Linked DNA regions of Homo sapiens: region 1 is linked to region 2. The links are contacts of gene promoters, found by promoter capture Hi-C in blood cells and fetal thymus (Javierre and others, 2016). All regions are on one chromosome and are shown on one strand. Each heading gives the region's core, a stretch centred on a gene start or on the middle of the fragment in contact. The rest is flanking DNA. Distances are from core to core; before and after follow the strand shown.

Region 1 (3,906 bases), core at 680-3,179, 1.1 Mb before region 2:
GTGGGAAACTGTGAGATTGGAATGTGTGAGAACAACAGCTTTTTTGATGTATACAAAATAGGGCAAATGGTTAACCACCAAAATAATTTTCCTTGTGACCTGAGCCTTGGCTCTGGCATAATTAGAAGGAAAGGTTAGGAGAGTAACAATGGCAGTCGCTTCCACCCACTTTCTTCTTTTCTTCTTTATATTGTGTCAGGAACCGATGGGCGGATTATCCTTCCCATCAACTCCTTTGTATCTCTTCAGCTTAGAGAATTCCTGTCAGCCTCAGAGGATGCTTCTTGCACCAGAAAAAGAGGCATTTGGTATGGAGGAGAATGTGAAATATGCTCTTTGATTTTTATGAGAAATTTTTTTAGGCAATGGTTATACACACACACACACTCGATCAGGGGAATTTAAAAACATGTATGAGGGTATAGGGAATATTGTAATGAGTCCTCACATTTCCATCACCTACACTCATCATTTTGCCCGTCCTCTTCCTCAGTCCTATTCCATCACTCATCATTTTGCCAGTCCCCTTCCTCAATCCTATTCCATCACTCATCATTTTGCCAGTCCTCCTCCTCAATCCTATTCCATCTATCTCACTTTTTTCTCTCTACTTCTGTCCTCATCGTCACCTTCATCTTCTTTGTCATGTTTTTTCTGCTCCACCTTCTCATCTTCATCTTCTTCTGTCTTCTTCCTCTACCTCTTTTTCTTCTTTTGCAGAAGTATTTTAAATGGATCTCAGACCTTATGTTATTTTACTCATAAATACCCATGTGGATCTATGAAGGATATTTTTACATACTATGTCATTATCATACCTAACAATGTTAACAATACTTCTTTAATATCAAATAACACCCAGCCTATATTCACATTTCTTTGTCTCAAAAATGTTGATTTTACAGTTGGTTTATTCAAATTAGGAGAACAAGTATGTTTTTGTATGTCCAATTTTCTGGTGTTACCCTTTTTAATAGGAAATAAACAGAACTCTTAGTAAAATTTCATCTTTCTTTGTTGTTGTCTGTTAAATTTTGTACATAATGTTTTGATTATGCTTTATTTTTATAAAATGCCTCATTGTCATTCTAAAGAGGTATAAATTAATCCTACAGCAAAGTATGTGAAGGAAATGGCTACCACGCAGCATTCCTGATAATCATATCCCAAAAGGAGCTTCCTCGCATCCGAAACCCCAAATTCAGCATTAATTTCACAGCCTTGTATTTAAGATTTGGACATGTTGCAGGAGGCCCTAACATGACAAGGATGAGCTGACCTGAAATGAGTGATGCAGAAATAGAGTTTTTTTGTCAACTTCCCTTTTGGTAAATTAATCTGAGAAGACGATTCTTTATAGCCGCTAACCTTTGATTAGGGCCCAGTGCAAAGTGAAAATACAGGACCCTTTTGTTCAGAAAGCAGGAAAGAAGTGATATTAAAAAGAACTAAAATATAAAACATTTTCCTTTCTTCTTCAGTCTCTCTCTCCTTGCCCCTCCTCCCTCACCAACCCAGGCTGGACATGCATTTTTTTTTTTTTTCTTTTTTTTTTTTTTTTAGGACGGAGTCTCCCTCTGTCGCCCAGGCTGGAGTGCAGTGGCGCGATCTCGGCTCACTGCAAGCTCCGCCTCCCGGGTTCATGCCATTCTCCCGCCTCAGCCTCCCGAGTAGCTGGGACCACAGGCGCCCACGACCACGCCCGGCTAATTTTTTTTTTTTTTTTTTTTTGTATTTTTAGTAGAGACGGGGTTTCGCCGTGTTAGCCAGGATGGTCTCGATCTCCTGACCTCTTGATCCGCCGGCCTCGGCCTCCCAAAGTGCTGGGATTACAGGCATGAGCCACCGCGCCCGGCCTGGGGCGGGAATTCTTACCTCCCTGTCCAGCTCTAAGATGGCAGGGATGGGCACACTTGACTCAATCCTCTCTAAACACACATTCAGGATTCTGCCAGGGGCAAAAGACACAGGAGAACACACACCTCCCCCAGTGACATACGCACCTCCCCCAGTGCCCTGGTCCCACCCTAGGTGGAGGGACCCACCCCAGCAGCAGGGCAGGGCGGGATAGAGGAAGCTGGAGAGGAGTATATTTCTGAGAACTGCGTAGGGCTGCAGTGAGGCAGTGGAAAGATGAGACCACATACAGGAGTTCAGTCTCCATTGTTCCATCAGAGTACACCTACAAAACACAATTCTAGCCGGGCGTGGTGGCTCACGCCTGTAATCCCAGCGCTTTGGGAGGCCGAGGTGGCGGATCACCTGAGGTCGGGAGTTTGAGACCAGCCTGACCAATATGGAGAAACCCCGTCTCTACTAAAAATACAAAAAAAAAAAAAAAAAATTAGCCGGACATGATGGCACATGCCTGTAATCCCAGCTACTCAGGAGGGTGAGGCAGGAGAATTGCTTGAACCCAGGAGGCGGACGTTGTGGTGAGCCGAGATCACGCCACTGCACTCCAGCCTGGGCAACAAGAGCGAAACCCTGTCTTGGATAAAAACAAAACAAACAAAACAAAAAAAAAAAAACACAATTCTAAGATACAATTGCTAATAATTTCAAGACATTGACCACAGAGTATTAAACTGCAAGTGTAAGGACCCTTCTGAACAGCACATGTGTGACTGCACTGATCACGTGCCCAAGAAACTGCCATAACCAGGGGGATGGGCAAATGGAGATTTTGCATACTAATATATGTGTATATATCCCCACTCACATATACAGACACATATGCATATTCAATATGCTAATGTGCCCAGTATTCATAAAAAAGTGTTAGCCAACTACAGCTCATAGGTCAAGTCTGGCCTGCTGTCTATGTTACAAATAAAGTTTTATTAGAACTCAGCCATACCTACTCATATATGTATCACCTATTGCTACTTCCTGCAACAACAGCAGAGTTGAGGAGTTGTGGTAGAGACCATATAGCCCACAAAGCCTAAAATATTTACTGTCTGACCCTTTACAGAAAAAGTTGCCAATCCCTACCTTGAGTATAGAAATACAACTGTATTTTTTAAGTTTCCTCTGACTTACTAGGATGCTGAGCTTTGAGTTTGAAGACCCATGTATCTTAAATAATAACAATGGTTTTAGAGTATTTTGCAGTATAACAAATGTGCCACATCTTTAGTCTCTTAAAAATCTAATGGCATTACTCAGCGAGTGTATCACTGATAATCATGGCATTTTCTTATTAGTGGCACATGACTTACTAGTGGCTTGGATGGGAGTGTAAATACCGTATGATTTTATATTTACAATTTTGTTTTTAGGTTGGTTCCAATTTTATTTTTCAGAGATAAGAAGGCTGATATAGAAAGCGTCTTTCTTTTTTTTTTTTTACCGGCATTGTATAAATTATAATTTTGGAGTTGTGGCTACTACTGAGTAGAAAACATCAAGTTTGAAATGACTTTAATGGAGCAATCAAAGCAAATATTCAGGGTGGGGTATCTCTGCAAAAGAAATAGATCCAAAAATTTTGGCTGGAAAAATGAGGGCAAAAAAGGATTTGAGGGTTGCTCATATCTACAGCAGTGATTCAGCACTTGGACACTGACATTAAGGATGGAGTGTAAGGACACAGGAATTATCGCCTAAATTCAGTTGAATTAACTAGACTGTTGGAAGAAGTGCATCTATATTGTATGGCTTTGTGTAAGGAGAAGAAGGCCTGCCTGCAAGCCCTAAAAGTCAGTCCTTTTTTCTTTCTTTTTTTTTTTGAGACGGAGTCTCATACTGTCGCCCAGGCTGGAGTGCAGTGGTGCAATCTCGGTTCACTGCAACCTCTGCCTCCCAGGTTCTAGCAATTCTCCTGCCTCAGCCTCCCAAGTAGCTGGGACTATGGGAGCACGCCACCACCCCCAGCTATTTTGTTGTTGTTGTTGTTTTTTA
Region 2 (3,801 bases), core at 809-3,308:
CCAAGGGCATCAGATCAGGTTGGTCCATGACTTCAAGACTACTTTCTCGGTAACATTAGTAACACCTTCTCCAAGCTACAAACTACTTCTAATATTTCTCCATAGAATATTAAAATTGAGGATCCTTTAGAATAAATACCATAATGGTTGTGTTCTCCAAACCTTCTTACAACCCATAGTGTAGCTCAACCTGAGCTATTTCCATATTAACGAGATGTCAAGATGTCAGTGAAGGAGACACACAGGCCTCAGCCTCTCTCCCGCTGTCGACAGCAAGAAAGCTCGGTATTCGGATACGTCTTCCCCACAGCATGACCAGATCTGAATGTAAGACAAAAGGTAGGTAAAGGCTGGATTTCTGGAGTATTTCCTAAGAAAGTGCGGGGCAGGAATTTAATGGCAACACCCTGAAGATTGCTAAGGTACAAAGTGTGTTGCCAGAGGGGTGGAGAAATAATAGGCTGGAAGGGAAGGAGGGAGAGGTGGTAGTGACAGTTTCCTAAGAGGCAATTAGTGCAACAGCTATTTCAGAATGGGCAGGGTGGATTTCTAAATGAAAACAAAACAAAACGAAACAAGGTAAATCAGAGAATATTTGCAGTATTTGCATTTAGCTTTTTAACATACCTGTGATTTCATTGTTTCTGCATGCTCAAAATGGTATTCAAGGGGGCCTATAACTTACTAGAACATATACAGCATGGCACCATCATATCATGCCATGCATGTTCAAAAACAAATATTCTTGCAACCTAAACAGATAGCAGTTAACTTCAAATATTACATTATGCTTTGTTTTGAAAGTGGTTATTGCTCATCTGCTTAGAATTTTGAAACTGGAGAGAGTTATCTGAGAGCCTTTACAAAGGCCTTACCCTGTATGCTGCGTCAAAGGAAACGACAAATAGGAAGAAAGGTTACACTGAAAACCACGTGTCTCCCGTTAGAAGTACATTACCACCTCGTTTTCCGAAAGTTCACTTTCGATGTCACCTTAACAATGCAAATATTTATTTCCAAATACTCAATTTGACATCCATGTATTTACTTCCCTCACTTTTTTTGAACAGAGAAGGGATTCCTTCCTCTGGGACCAACTAGTAAAAGTAATTTCTCCTTAACTTTCATGTATGGAGCACACTGTAAAAACAAAAACAAAAACAAGAAACTCAGGGCCCTAAAACAACAGTCCAAAGCCCAGAGGTGGGTGGGTTTGGATGTCAACAAAGTGGACCAGAGGAAGCAAAGCACTGCATGCCACGGTCCTGCAGATGGGGGATCGGTGAGTCTGATTTCAGGACGTTTCGAAACAATCCACTCCCACTCCGCCGCCCTGGGCGGGGCGGGGGGGCGGTGATGGGGGGTTCTGCCGTCGCGCCGGGTCTCCGCCCGCAGTCGGAAGAGTTGGGAGCAGGCCTCGGGCGGTAGCTCCTCAAACTCGGACCGCATCCCACCTCCACCCCGGCCTCAGTCCCGGCGCTGAGCACCACTCGCCAGACGCAAAACTGCAACTGCCAGGCATCGCGCATCTCTCAAAGGCTCCCCGCCAGCCCACCTCTTCCTCCAGGGCCACCCCAAGTTTCACCCGACGCTCCAGGTCAGGGGTCCCCGACCTCCCGCCATTTCTCCACGTAGCCGCAGCTCAGGACAGGAGGAGAGAGCCTCAAGGTGACACCTCATTTTGGCCAGTGGATCCGGGTTCTGGGTCCGAGTTCCCGGGCACCAGGAGCCAGGCAGCCCGAGCTCCCGGGCCCGGCTTCCCATGAGAGGCCCCGTCGCCTCACCTGGCAGCGGCACACGATGTCGGCGTCCTGCGCCAGCAGGTCCACCACCTTCCCTTTGCCTTCGTCGCCCCACTGCGCACCGAGCACCACCGTCACCCGGTTTCCTCCGGGCCGCGCCCTGGGGCGGCCGCAATCGCCGTTGGGCAGGGAGGATGCCGCCGGGTAGGTCTCGGCGAACGCCATGGCTCCAGTGACGCGAGGAGAGCCCGAAGGAGAGGCGGCCGGCGAGGAGTGAGCGAACTGAACTGCTCTGCGGCCGCCAGCCACATGCAGAGGAAGAAGGAGCCAGAGGCCGGCCCCGCCCCCGCCCCGCCGGGCCGCCACCCTCCAGCCAGTCCCCGCCCCGCTCTCCGCCACAGCCCGCTCAAGGGGGTACCATGACTGCCCCGCGCAGGCCGGCCTCGGCAGCACCGCCCGCAGGAAGAGGCCCTGGTGGCGGCAACGGCCGCCACCCCGGACCGAGGCCACGCCCCTTCCGCGGCCTGGCGCGCCACTCCCGTGCAAACCTCGCGAGCGGAAAAGGTCAGGGGCGGGGCTTCGAGAGCGCTTCTCCTTCAGCACCCCGCCTACCCGCTCTACCTCTCGCTTTCAAACTGGAGAGGCGCGGAAGCGCGTGTGGAGCGTCGGACTACAAATCCCAGCATGCAACGCTCTGGGCTGCGGCGGTGTATTCTGGGGCCACTGTGTCTGCCATCTGCAGGTTTGTCTGGATTTGTCTTTATTAAGGAATGAATGTGTACAAAATACAAACTGTGGAATTTCGCAGTACAAACAGCATAAAATCGGAACGTGTAAGTGTAGAATTGGAAATTAAAAGTCCGGAAGTAACAGAGATGGGGACAGGGATCAAAAAAGACAAAATTCAAAAGTAAGGCAATAAGATAAAGGACATGAGACCTGAAATCAATAGATCAAATAAAGTCCTAATCCTCATTTTACATAGTAGTAACAAAGGCTCAGAGAGGAGGAGTGGATTACCTATGTCGCATATAGTACATATATGCAGATACCGTCATGCACTTCTTTATTTTTTAATCCCCACAACCATATAAGGTAGGTGATCCTCTATTATCCTTATTTTACAGGATTTAAAAGCTGGGTAACTTGCCCTAGTGAGGCTTGAATTGGTACTTCGATAATCTAAGTCCAGAGCCCATGTCCTTCCTGTAGATTCCACTGTCTCTCAGTTACATTTGTAACTAGATTCTGGTGTATACCTACTGTTCATCTAATGCCCTTTCGACACCAACACAAATTAACTATGATGTTTAATTCTGATAAAAGGTGCTTCGAAAAAAAGTGGGAATGGAATCACATTATATGTACCGTCTCCCAAATCGCCTGTACATACTGTATGTTCACTAATGGTCCCTAGAGTACACTTTAGTATTTTATTTCTAGTCAATGAGTTAAGTCAGGAACATTGAGAACCTGCTATTAACTAACTAAGTGTCCTGGGCACTGATAACATAGGAGAAATAAAGATACAATTCAGCCCTCAAGGATTCAAATTATTTGGTCTATTGATTAGTAAACAATTATAATACTATGTGATAATTGTTGTCTATCTTGGCCTTATTACAAGATCACAAACATTTTGGAAACAAGAATGCCATCTATTTCTTTCTAGTCAAATGCCCGAGGTAGTGTTGGGCAGATAGTAGATACTGAATAAGCACACCTTACTAGTCATTTCCATTCAATTTTTTAAAATCATTTATGGGAGACTGATTTGAGTAATAATAAAACTCTGGTTTCCTGCACAGCCAGCTCTACATGAATTACTCTTTCTCTATTGCCATTTGCCTGTCTTGATGAATTGGCTCTGTCTAGGCAGTGGACAAGGTGAACCCCTTGGGCGGTTACAAATTTGGGGGCTTGTCTGGCATTGCCTTTGTGGCTACCTACTCGTGGTTCAGTGGCCCCCCTCCAGCAATGGATCCAGAAGCCTGCCCAAGCGGCCACCCAGTTCTCTTGGACTGGGGGCTGACTCTGGTACTCTCTCTACTGGTGGGGT

What was found. Contacts are between HindIII fragments. The CHiCAGO score rates a contact against its expected background, and 5 or more counts as called.
Region 1: a contact is called between a fragment that was not itself captured here and the fragment with the promoter of ADSS2 in region 2, in 2 of 17 cell types (neutrophils and monocytes). The highest score is 6.1, in neutrophils.

The regions. Positions count from the first base shown.
Region 1 is chr1:243,346,493-243,350,398 of GRCh38, forward strand. All of the region lies in intron 12 of SDCCAG8 (SHH signaling and ciliogenesis regulator SDCCAG8), which reads left to right. Among named protein-coding and RNA genes, the nearest start is that of MIR4677, 2.3 kb to the left of the region's middle. The HindIII fragment of the contact is 6,251 bases long and covers 1-3,906 here.
Region 2 is chr1:244,449,851-244,453,651 of GRCh38, forward strand. It overlaps ADSS2 (adenylosuccinate synthase 2), which reads right to left and starts at 2,059. Exons shown (of 13, transcript NM_001126.5): 1 at 1,785-2,059. The coding sequence starts at 1,967. It also overlaps a transcript of CATSPERE not described here. RefSeq lists silencers at 1,239-1,518, 1,959-2,448. The HindIII fragment of the contact is 6,677 bases long and covers 1-3,801 here.